Regions from separate parts of the Homo sapiens genome. Here regions 1 and 2 are each linked to region 3. Evidence: promoter capture Hi-C in 16 types of primary human blood cells and fetal thymus (Javierre and others, 2016). All regions are on one chromosome and are shown on one strand. Each heading gives the region's core, a stretch centred on a gene start or on the middle of the fragment in contact. The rest is flanking DNA. Distances are from core to core; before and after follow the strand shown. Region 1 overlaps TTL (tubulin tyrosine ligase). Region 2 has its middle 15 kb from the start of RGPD8. Region 3 holds the start of ZC3H8 (zinc finger CCCH-type containing 8).

Region 1 (3,946 bases), core at 53-2,552, 230 kb after region 3:
GGACCAGGCCTCTATGCTCCAGTATCAGTCAGCCATTGGCTGTGGGAAGAGATGGAGGGCTTAGCTTCGCAGGCATTTCTGGGCAGGGGCTGGTCCCCAGAGAAGGGCATATATAGCCCGTAGCATCCTTCTCTCATGGCTGTAAGGGGTCCCTCAGAAAGGATATCTGGGCAGGGTATAAGAGCATTCACTGCACTGCCCATCTCTGAGCAGTTGGATTATGGCTAGGTATCACAAAGTGGAAGGAGACGGTGTTAGACAACGATTAAGATCTAGGGTGAAAAGTGTAAGTGTTCACCCCAGCTCCTTCTCTCACTAGCTTGGGCAGATCTCCTCATCCCTCTAAGCCTCAGTGCCTCCCTCGTAAGGCTATTATGAGAATTAAATAAGGTGATGCATGTAAAGTTTATATAGCACAGTGGCCTGGTACATAATGAGAATTTGACACTATCTTAATTTTCTTGGCTGTAAAATGGGGAAATAATAATAACTACCTAAGGTTGTTATGAGGATTAATTGAGCTAATTTAGCTACGGGCTTTGAATTGTGCCCGTCTTGTTGTTCCTACTGTATAAGTGAAAGCATTCCTTATTATTGCTATTAGTATAGTTGTCATTGCTATTACTGTTGTTTCAGTAGGAAACACTGGGTCGGGCCACTAAAATCAGGGCTGTCGTGGGCCTCCAGTATTCTTTCCATGATGACTGGTGAACATGTGTGTGTAGCCAGGTACTGGAAGATATGACTCAATGCAAAATGCTCTTTTCCCACTAACGTTTCTTTCTGGGCTCTAGATATTTACTAGGTTGGGTGCTCACAGGAACATTTCTGCTTTTTGTTCACTCATTGGCCCTGGTAACTTATGTACCCACTCCTCTCTGTGATGGGTTTATCATGATTCATCCCACTCCTGAAGGAGAGTGAGGCTTCCTGAAGTCATTTTGTGACATGTTTGTATATTTAGAATGCAAATGACTGTTACATGGAATCAGGAATAGAAGTGGGACATGCTTGTTTATTCAAATTATTCACTTAGAAATTCTTATTAAATATTTATTAAACCTCTTCTGCTACGATTTTTCCCCTAAAGATAAAGTAGGAAGCAGAGGACTCAGTAAAAAAATAATGGTTTCCATGTTTGTATATTTTGCAGTTATAGTGAAGCAGAGTGAGTACAGGGCTGGAGTCGTGACCAACTGTGATAAATATCTGTGACCTTGGAGAGCACCACTCAGAATCCCCGTGTCTCATCTGTAAAATGGGGATGGATGGTGGTGACAGTACCTGCCCCTTGCCCCTCGGAGGCATGCAGTGTGATCTGTGATAGCACCTTGTAATGGTGACATGACCTATGCAGGCTGGAGGTTGCATCATCCTCATCAGCTTCCATCTTTGTCTCAGTTGTCCTGTGAGGGGCTTGCAGTAATTCCAGGATATGATGCTTCCCTTTATCCATTTGTCTCTCTCCCATGATTTTGTATGGCTTGAAAGGGCTCCAGAGAGTTAGAAATAAAGTCTCCTTGATTTTATAGGACAAAGTGGCAGTTCAGAGAGGACAGCCAGGTTGCCCATGGCCATAGTAGCTCCTGTTAAACCAGGACAGTTTTAATCTGCACAAATGGGACCCCTGGCCATTGTGACTGTGCACCCTTGGGAGGCTTCCCAGAGCCTTGGTGGGGTTCAGTGCAAGACCCTGTGCAGCCCAGTCCTTCCCCCTGTCACTTCAGGGAGTTTCGGAAATTTCACTGAGGCCTCAAGGCCATAGTCTTAGAACCCTGAGGGGCTTTTCTTCTCCTGGTACAGATCAGAGGCTATCTTTTCCTCTCCTGAGCATTGCTGTTTTATAGATGTAAATAAATCTCCATTTCTGATTACTTCCCAAATGGGCCCATGAGGAAATGGGACAAAAGCAAAGGACTTCCTGCAGAGCCTGGTCTTGGTTCTGTGCAGGAAATGAGGGCTTCCAAACCAAGGTCATCTTACAGACCAGCACTGTCCAACAGAAATAGGATGCTACCCACACATGTAATTATAAACCGCCTAGTAGCCACATTAAAATAAGTGCAGAGAAACAGCTGCAAGCCGGGCGTGGTGGCTCACGCCTGTAATCTCAGCACTTTGGGAGTCTGAGGCGGACAGATCACTTAGGGTCAGGAGTTCGAGACCAATCTGGCCAGCATGGTAAAACCCCATGTCTACTAAAAATACAAAAATTAGCTGGGTATGGTGGTGGGTACCTGTAATCCCAGCTGCTCGGGAGGCTGAGGCAGGAGAATCGCTTGAACCTGAGAGGTGGAGGTTGCAGTGAGCCGAGATCATGCCACTGCACTCCAGCTTGGGAGACAGAGTGAGACTCCTTCTTAAAAAAAAAGAAAAGAAAAGTAACAGCTGCAATTAAATTAATAATTTATTGCCGGGCGTGGTGGCTCACGCCTGTAATCCCAGCATTTTGGGAGGCCGAGGCGGGCGGATCACGATGTCAAGAGATTGAGACCATCCTGGCCAACATGGTGAAACCCCGTCTCTATTAAAAATATAAAAATTAGCTGGGCATGGTGGCAGGCGCCTGTAGTCCCAGCTACTTGGGAGGCTGAGGCAGGAGAATTGCTTGGGCCCAGGAGGTGGAGATTGCAGTGAGCTGAGATCATGCCATTGCACTCCAGCCTGGGTGACAGAGTGAGACGCCGTCTCAAAAAAGAAATAAATTAATTTAAAAAACCCAAATAATTTATTATATTTAACTAAATAAATCCAAAATGTTATTTTGACATGTAATTAATATAAAAAGCTATTATATTTTACGTTCTTTTATTCACTCTTCAAAATCTAATGTGAATTTTACATATGTAGCACATCTTAATTCAAACAGTAAATTTTCATTGGAAAGCTTTGATCTGAATTTAGATTACATAAAAAATGTATGGTTGAAGAAGTAGATTTATGTACTCAAGTTGTACATAAAAGTTTTTCAACAACTTTGAAAGCCAGAAGATCTATTTCCTTTAATATTGCACACACATTTTCAAAACTAGTTCATCTTTTCTAGAAGAATTGATTTGACTATGAAGCAAAAGCTTATTTTCAAAATAATGTCCAAGTTAAGTAAATTCACCAACTCTTGTGTTAGTTTGATACTGTAAATATCAAATTCAAAGATGTATTGAATATATTGAAAAGTAACTCTAAATTTACCAATGTCAACAAAGTGTTCCTCAGATTTCTTTTAGTTTTTGCAGCCAATTTTCATAATGCTATTACAATTAACATTTTTTGCATACTGAATCATGTTGTAAAAATATGTGAAATCATTATTATCAACTTATGAAGTTGGAACATAAATTCTCACACCTGTCTGGGTGGATCATAAATAAGATCTTCTCTTCCCTTCCTTGGAGCTTTAAATTTATCTTGTTTATATGCAGTATGAAGATAGATGAGAAAATGCAAATGGCAGTCATTTTTTATTTTGATTATTGAAATAATGAATTACTGAGTGAAAATGATGATTTGACAAACATTCCTTTTATTTTCAAGAAAATCTGAATTGGAGTTGAAAAGTAAATCTTTATTTAAAAAGACCCTTCCCCTTCTCCATCAGTGAATACTGGCAGAGAACACAGTATCATTAAATTCATTGTCTTCTGTTTCCATGAACTGGAGAATCATTGAGTATATACAGAACCATTTTAACAACTGTATCCGTGACACTTAGAGTCTGCTTCAGAAAACCTAGCACAAGGCCGGATGTGGTGACTCACACCTGTAATCCCAACACTTTCAGAGGCCAAGGCAGGTGCATCATTTGAGGTCAGGAGTTCGAGACCAGCCTGGCCAACATGGTGAAACCCTGCCTCTTCCAAATACAAAAAAAAATTAGCTGGGCATGGTGGTGTGCGCCTGTAATCCCAGCTACTTGGGAGGCTGAGGCACAAGAATCGCTTGAGCC
Region 2 (4,024 bases), core at 1,230-3,729, 190 kb after region 3:
ACACATATGTATATATATATGATAAAAAAAGATATTGGGGAGATGTGCTCTGCTACAGGGGTTTGTGATAAAGCATTAATTGTCCTAATTACTGTATTTTGCAAGAATCGATATGTTTAAAGCAAAATTAGGAATGCCCTTGTTCTCCAGATATTGGGATATCTGGACACTCCCGAGTCTGCATCTGTTTAGTAAACATTATTAATCTGTTCCCTTAACCATAAACATCTAGGGGCTAGGAATTCCTCACTTTCTGGGAATGCAGCCCAGGAAGCCTCAGACACATTTTCCTAGCCCTCACTCAAAATGGAGTCACTCCAGTTCAAACACCTCTGACATAAGGACTTCCTTCCAAAGAGTACAGTAAGGAAAGGGAAAGAAAGAGGGACTTTTCTGTGGAGAAACGTAATGGACACCGTCTCAGCCAGGTGATCAAGGTCAGCATCAACAGGAATAAATCTCACCAGTATCCCCAAAACTGTCAAGGTCATCAGAAACAAGAAAAGTCTTAGAAACTGTCACAGCCAAGCGGAGCGTAAGGACACATGACAACTAAATGTAATGTGGTGTCCTGGATGAGATCCTCGAACAGAAAATAATATTAGGCAAAAACTAAGGAGATCTGGATAAAATATTCACACTAGCTAATAATAACAAATCAATATTAGTTGAGTAATTGTTGCAAATACACCATACTCATGTAAGATGTTGGTTATAGGAGACAATTGAGTACAGGGCATATAGGTGCTCTTTGTACGAATTTCTTAATTTTTCTGTAAGTACAAAACTGTCCAAAAAGTTAAGACTATTTTAAAAAAATATTCAACTATCACAATATATTAAATCAACAATTTAAACTAGGATAATACAATTAAGTCAATAAATACTAAAAAGCTTGTTTCTGATCTTTTTTCAAAGTTTCCAAGTAAAATGATTAAATATGATTCGTCATCAAGAGAAAGCTTTATACTAAACAGTAAAACACAGAGCCAATTTTATCCATCAGTTTCAAGCTGGAAATATCAGCTGGCACCATTATTAAACATATTTTTTCAAAATTCTACTGAATATAATTAGATCAAAAATTGAAATAATTGGGGCCGGGCATGGTGGCTCATGCCTGGAATCCCAGCACTTTGGGAGGCCGAGGTGGGTAGATCACTTGAGGTCAGGAGTTCGAGACCAGCCTGGTCAACATGGTGAAACCCCGTTTCTACTAAAAATCCAAAAAGAAAATTAGCCAGGCATGGTGGCGTGCACCTGTAATCCCAGCTACTCGGGAAGCTGAGACAGGAGAATCACTTGAACCCGGGAGGCAGAGGTTGCAGTGAGCCGAGATCACGAGACTGCACTCCAGCCTGGGTGACAGAGGGAGACTCCGTCTCAAAAAAAAAAAAAAAAAAAAAAAGAAATAATCAATTTAAATGTTGGAAAGTAGGCAAAACCATCCAAGATATTTTAGAAAAGAAACAAAAACAGGCCGGGCGCAGTGGCTCACGCCTGTAATCCCAGCACTTTGGGAGGCTGAAGTGGGCAGATCATGAAGTCAGGAGACCGAGACCATCCTAGCCAACATGGTGAAACCCCGTCTCTATTAAAAATACAAAAAATTAGCCGGGTGTGGTGGCGGGTGCCTGTAGTCCCAGCTACTCGGGAGGCTGAGGCAGGAGAATGGCGTGAACCCGGGAGGCAGAGCTTGCAGTGAGCAGAGATCGCACCACTGCACTCTAGCCTGGGTGACAGAGCAAGACTCTGTCTCGAAAAAAAAAAAAGGAACAAAAACAATCTTAAACGAATAAGTAAATTTGGTTAAATAGTTGCACATGTTTTCTCTATGAACAGAAATCAGAAATGGAAATGGAAAACCATGTCATTGAATAGCAACTAAATTCAAAGTGAAATAAAAATAACATCAGGGACATGAGTTTAACTTGAATAAAATTTTGTAGTGGACGTTAAAACTAAGTACATTGAGAGACACCGTATCTGAATGGGGAGACTCGCTATCATAGGAATAAAAATCCTCCCAACATTAATAATGTATGGATATTGCTGCAGTTCTTACACAATATGTTTGAGCTAGCTAAAAGGATTTCAAAAATTACATGGAAAAATAAATGCTTCAGAATCACCAAGACACTAAGTCAAAGAATAATGAGAGGGAATTGCCTTTATATCCACTATATAGTGGAGAATGCTAAACGCTGCCTGCATTAGTTACCTATTTCTATGTATATACAATCTAATGTTAAAATCTCAGAGAGACCAAAGGATCACAGTCATATTCAGTCACACAAAGGTCCCTTTAAAGAGATTAAAGGTGTTGCTCTCAGATTGTCTCAAACAATTAAACCTCTAGGGAGCTTAAGAGTATTTTTCCTCAGCCTCTCAGCAGAAGCTCAAGATAGTGAAGGGTTTATCCAGAGAGATTTGTAGGGTTTCGTCTAATGTAGTTAACACATTATGCAAGCAAACAAAAAGACCCACAAATTTCCTGAGAAATCTGTGTGTCAGTTTGGAGTGGAAAAGGCAGACCCAGTACAACATAAAAAGGAATTGTTGGACCTCCAAAATTCTAGCAGGAAGCAGGCTGAGAAAACAGATGCTACCTTTTCTTTAAAAAAAAAAAAAAAAAGTCCGGGCACAGTGGCTCACACCTGTAATCCCAGCACTTTGGGAGGCTGAAGAGGGCAGATCGCTTGAGGTCAAGAGCTCAAGACCAGCCTGGCCAACATGGTGAAACCCCGTCTCTACTAAAAATACAAAAATCACCCAGGCATGGTGGTGGGAGCCTGTAGTCCCAGCTACTCGGGATGCTGAGGCAGGAGAATCACTCGAACCCGGGAGGTGGAGGTTGCAGTGAGCCCGAGATTGCGCCACTACACTCCAGCCTGGGTGACAGAGTGAGACTGTGTCTCCAAAAAAAAAGGATGATTCAGAGGGCAAAAATAAGGAGTCCAGAGGATGGAGCCAAGAGCCATGGAGAATTATTTTTAGCAGGAATGAGACTGAGTTCTAAAATTTGGATTTCAGAATTGCTATGGACCAGTAACACCTGTGTGCCTCCTATTTGCCCCTTTTTTGTGTGTAGAGATTATCTTGTGCCTGTCCCACCATCGTATATTGGGTGATATGGTTTGGCTATTTTCCCAAGCAAATCTTGTCTTGAATTGTAGCTCCCGTAATACCTATATGTTGTGAGAGGGACCCAGTGGGAGATAATTGAATCATGGGGGCAATTTCCCCTATGCTGTTCTGGTGGTAGTGAATAAGTCACATGAGATCTGACGGTTTTATAACGGGTTTCCCCTTTCACTTGGCTCTCATTCTCTCTTTGTCTGTCACCATTTAAGACGTGGATTTACTCCCCCCGCTTGCCTTCCACCATGATTGTAAGGCCTCCCCAGCCCTGTGGAACTGTGAGTCAATTAAACGTCTTTCCTTTGTAAATTACCCAGTCTCAGGTATGTCTTTATTAGCAGCATGAGAACAGACTAATACATTGGGTGTGGGAGGTGGGCAGGTATCTCGTCTCTTTAGCTTCAGAAATCCACAGATCAATTGGAACTGTGCTTAAGGAGCTGTACTTGGGGAACTACACCTGATGTATCTCAACCATACCTGGACCTGATTTAGATGATGGGATTCTGGACTTAGAGCTGATGTTATGAGGTGAGGCTCTGGGGACTCTTGGAGAGTTGTAGATGTATTTGCCATGAGGGAGGGATGTGAATCACTGGGGACCAGAGAGCAGACTATGGTAGGCAGCTTCCTAGGATGGTCTCCAGTGATCTCCACTTCCTGGTATTCAACCTCTTGTGTAATCCCCTCCCCTTAAGTGTGGCCTGGACCTGTTGCTTGCTTTTCATGAATAGAATATGGAAAAAGTGATGGAATATTATTACTGGAAAGGGGTCCCGATCCAGACCCCAAGAGAAGGTTCTTGGATCTCACACAAAAAAAGAGTTCAAAGTGAATTCATAGAGTAAAGTGACAGCAAGCTTATTAAGAAAGTAAAGGAATA
Region 3 (4,033 bases), core at 68-2,567:
ACTGATAGCTGCTGTTCGGATTTTTAAATGTTGCTATTATCTTTTTTTTGTGTGATGAATTCTTATGTATTTTATAACATATCAATTAGTACCAGTTATTTTTCTTAGTAAATTATATCATCTGCAAGTAATTAGTGTATCTGTCTCTTTCCAATATTTATAGGGCTTATTTTAAAATTTTAGTCATTTTGCATGAGAAGCTTGGTGATAAAATCATGGATCCTGGACATAGCTCTTCCACTTACACTGTGCAATCTCGGCAGGTTATTTAGCCTCTCCGTGCCTCAGTTTTCCCATCTGTAAAACGAGGACGGCATCATCTTCTCTTTAAGTTTGTTTTGAGGATTAAGTGATTTATTTCATGTAAAGCACAAGGTAAAGCTCTGGATGATCAGTTAAGGTAAAATTTGAGATAGAGTGAACAGCTGACCAATATCGAATGGTAAAATCAATCACAACTGGAAATATATCTCAGTTGAGGGAAATAAAAGACGTAGGTTTAAGAACAAAGATGGTGGTTTTTAGCATTTCAAATCACTAGACACTGCTCCAAAAATATAATCTACAAATTAGGGCCATCTGACCAAGAGTCTCACTTGCTTTTCCAACCTAATGGAAATATTAAGTCCAAATGACGTCTGTTGCTTTATTGTGGTCTTTAGGGTCTTTCCATGCAAATCAGTGGACTAATGGCAGAGTATTGCCTATTCTTTACCTTTCAATAAACTTGTGGTTTCATCCTTTCTACAGAAAAGAACCTAGGAGGTGTCAGTGAAAAAGGTCACATCAGTGTCCTCTGGGAGTTTACGGTCTCGTGGAAACAGGCAACAACGGTAAAGACAGACGCTACGGGACCACAGAGGCGGGCTCCTCACCCGCTGCTGTGCAGAGAAAGGGGCGCATCCCGGAGCCTTCTCGCCTCCACCCCGCTCCCCCGCCCAGGCTCTCGACAGCCCCGGCCCTGACGGCCTAAGCCTGAGCCCCGCGTTCAGCTTCTGCTCCCACCCGGACCCCGCACGACCTCTATAGGTCAGACGGTGGCGCCCGGCCGGCCCACGTGCTCCCCACGGGCCCTCGCGACGCGGCCCGGACGTGGCCCCGGACTGCCTCCAATCCAGAAGAAACTAAGAGGCGGAGTCCCGCTGAGCCCCTGCATTCAAAAGATGAAAAGATATGGGATCACCTTTCGTCAGAGTCCGTGGCCGTTTTGCCGAGGGCCGGGTTGGGGGGTTTTGAGAAAAGATTCTCAAAATCCATGACCCAGACAGGTCCTCCCTTTCGCGAGCCGGGAAGCTACAGAGTAACAACCCGAGAGAGTGACAACCCGGACGCGACGAGACGGACCCAGAGCCGCGCCAGGGCCACAGGCTCCGCCCCGCGCAGCCTCACCTGCCCCGCGCATGCGCTGCACCGCCCTCCGCGACTCTGGGCAGGCCGGGTCTCTCCCTGCCTCCTTCGCCTCGGCTCTGCGCAGGCGCCGCCGTGGTTGCCCTTCTGTAAGCTTTTTCGTCCTTTACCTCAGATAGTAGAATTTTGTTTATTTTATTTATTTATTTGTTTGTTTGTTTGTTTATTTAAAGACAGAGTCAAGCTCTGTCGTCCAGGCTGGACTGCAGTGGCGTGATCTCGGCTCACTGCAACCTCCGCCTCCCGGGTTCAAGCAAGTCTCCTGCTTCAGCCTCCTGAGTAGCTGGGACTACAGGTGTCTGCCACCACGCCCAGCTAATTTTTGTATTTTTAGTAGAGACGGGATTTCACCATGTTGGCCAGGATGGTCTCGATCTCTTGATCTCGTGATCCGCCCGCCCCAGCCTTCCAAAGTGCTGGGATTACAGGCGTGAGCCACCGCGCCCGGCCCCAGCCCAGAATTTTTAAAATTAGTTGTTAGGATTCTGCTTTCACCTTGGTGAAAACTCTTCCATCAAAATCACAGTATTTCTAAGGGATGGTAGTAACAGCTAACATTTATCTGAGCACTCCACTACTATTCCTTAGAAATAGCGTTTCACATGTTAGCTAACTTAATCCTCACAACAGCCCTGTAAAAGATGTTCTATTACCATTCACAGTTTTGAAATGAATAAACAGATGTGTAGTCAGGTAATGTAACTTGTAGGGTCTCTACAATTGAATGGGAATTAAAATGAATACACAAGTAACCTCAAGACAGAAAAGTCCGTTAAAAAGTACCAAATACTAAGAGAATTCAGAAGAGGGAAAAAATTGCATCCAGTTGGGAAGGCTTCTTGAGAAGGGAGTATTTGAGCTGGGTCTTGAGATATTTCCATAGGAAAAGAGGAAGTGGGCATTCCAAGTAGAGAGAATTGTATGAAGGCAGGAAAATAGAGCATGCTGTTGCAGAACAGGAAATTGCTCAGTTTTGCTCAATGTAATGCCATTTAAGGGACCTGTAGAAAGGAAGGCTCAAACCCTAGGTTGGGCCAGTGATAGAGAACCTGACTTGCTTCTGTAAGTGAAGGGAGTGTTTGATTCTTGGCATGAATCAGGATCCCTTTACCGATTAGTGAAGGGAACTATTTGAAGCCAGACATCTTCCCCAGGGAAATTCTACTTTCCCATGTTGTTTATATTGTAGGCCATCACCTATGGAACATGAATCATTACTAAAAATTCAGAGAAAAAATTGAATTAAGGAGATAAAAACTAGAATTACCCCCTCTTTAGCAGGAAGCATTATTATAGAACCCAAATTGTTACCATACACACTTTTTTATATAAAATATCCAACATACAGCAAAAGATAACCAGACACAAATGAAAATTAGATTGGTAGGTAAAAAGCAGCTAAAACATCTGACCTGCAAAGGCATCAGACACTAGCATTTTCAGACAAAGACTATATAAAAGGCTACATATGTTTGTGTTAGATTGATGCCAAAAAAGGCCCCAATTTCTCCAACCTTTCCTGTATCCATGTCCTTTGCAATGTGACTTTGCAGCTCCTCCCATAAAGAGGTAGGATCTATTTCACCTCCTCTTTAATCTGAGTTGATTTTGCCTGATAGAATGACTTGTCTTAGCTAGTAGAATGCAGAAGTGGCCTGCCAATACCAAGCCAAGGCCCCAAGAGGCTTTGTATGTGTCTGCTGTCTCTTATATGCCTGCCTTCTTCAGGACAATAAACTCAGGCTACCCTGCTGACGATAAGGGAGAGGCATGTAGAAGATAAGGCTAATGGAGGACAGCGAAAACACCCAGTCAACAGCTAGCAAAACCCTAAAAGCAAAGCCTCCTAGGCAACATACAGCTGAGCACACACATGATGGAGTCCTGCAGAGAACCAAAGACTCTCAGATGATCCCAGTCCAAATTACTAACCCACATAAATAAATGGTCCTTGTTTTAAGCCACTAAGTTTTTAAGTAGTTTACTACATAGTAATATCTAACTAATAAAAAAGAAACTATAAAAAGTGTCATAGAGAAATTGGGGAGAAGTAACCAAGTAGAACTTCTAGAAATAAAAAATATAATACTGAAATTTTTAAAAATCAGTGGATGGGGCTGGGCGTGGTGGCTCACACCTGTAATCCCAGCACTTTGGGAGGCCAAGGCCGGTGGATCACAAGGTCAAGAGATAGAGACCATCCTGCCAAAATGGTGAAACCCTGTCTCTAATAAAAATACAAAAATTAGCTGGGCGGGTTGGCGCACGCCTGTAGTCCCAGCTACTCAGGAGTCTGAGGCAGGAGAATCGCTTGAACCCGGGAGGCGGAGGTTGCAGTGAGCTGAAATTGCGCCACTGCACTCCAGCCTGGGAGACAGAGTGAGACTCCATCTCAAAAAAAAAAAAAAAAAATCAGTGGATGGTGTGGTCATATTAAAATGTGTTCAAAAATTCCTTAACACTTCTCCCTGCAAAAGTTGGAGATTTAGTCCCCTCTTCTTTAATGTGGATAGGATTTACTTATTTATTTCTAACAAATACAATGTGGCAAAAGTGATGATGCATGATTTCTGAGGTCATAAGAAGACATTGTAGTTTCTGCCTTATTCTCTTGAATCATCTGCAT

The links. The method cuts DNA at HindIII sites, captures the fragments that hold promoters and counts their contacts. A CHiCAGO score of 5 or more calls a contact.
Region 1: a fragment that was not itself captured here is called in contact with the fragment with the promoter of ZC3H8 in region 3 in 9 of 17 cell types (erythroblasts, total B cells, naive CD8 T cells and 6 more); the score reaches 7.6 in erythroblasts.
Region 2: a fragment that was not itself captured here is called in contact with the fragment with the promoter of ZC3H8 in region 3 in 1 of 17 cell types (endothelial precursors); the score reaches 5.4 in endothelial precursors.

The regions. Positions count from the first base shown.
Region 1 is chr2:112,486,396-112,490,341 of GRCh38, forward strand. All of the region lies in intron 2 of TTL (tubulin tyrosine ligase), which reads left to right. Among named protein-coding and RNA genes, the nearest start is that of TTL, 6.2 kb to the left of the region's middle. The HindIII fragment of the contact is 3,165 bases long and covers 1-2,885 here.
Region 2 is chr2:112,447,010-112,451,033 of GRCh38, forward strand. No RefSeq gene overlaps it. Among named protein-coding and RNA genes, the nearest start is that of RGPD8, 15 kb to the left of the region's middle. The HindIII fragment of the contact is 3,039 bases long and covers 961-3,999 here.
Region 3 is chr2:112,253,725-112,257,757 of GRCh38, forward strand. ZC3H8 (zinc finger CCCH-type containing 8) reads right to left here and starts at 1,318. Exons shown (of 9, transcript NM_032494.3): 1 at 1,184-1,318. The coding sequence starts at 1,257. RefSeq lists a silencer at 1,291-1,500 and a cis regulatory region at 3,051-3,302. The HindIII fragment of the contact is 1,301 bases long and covers 199-1,499 here.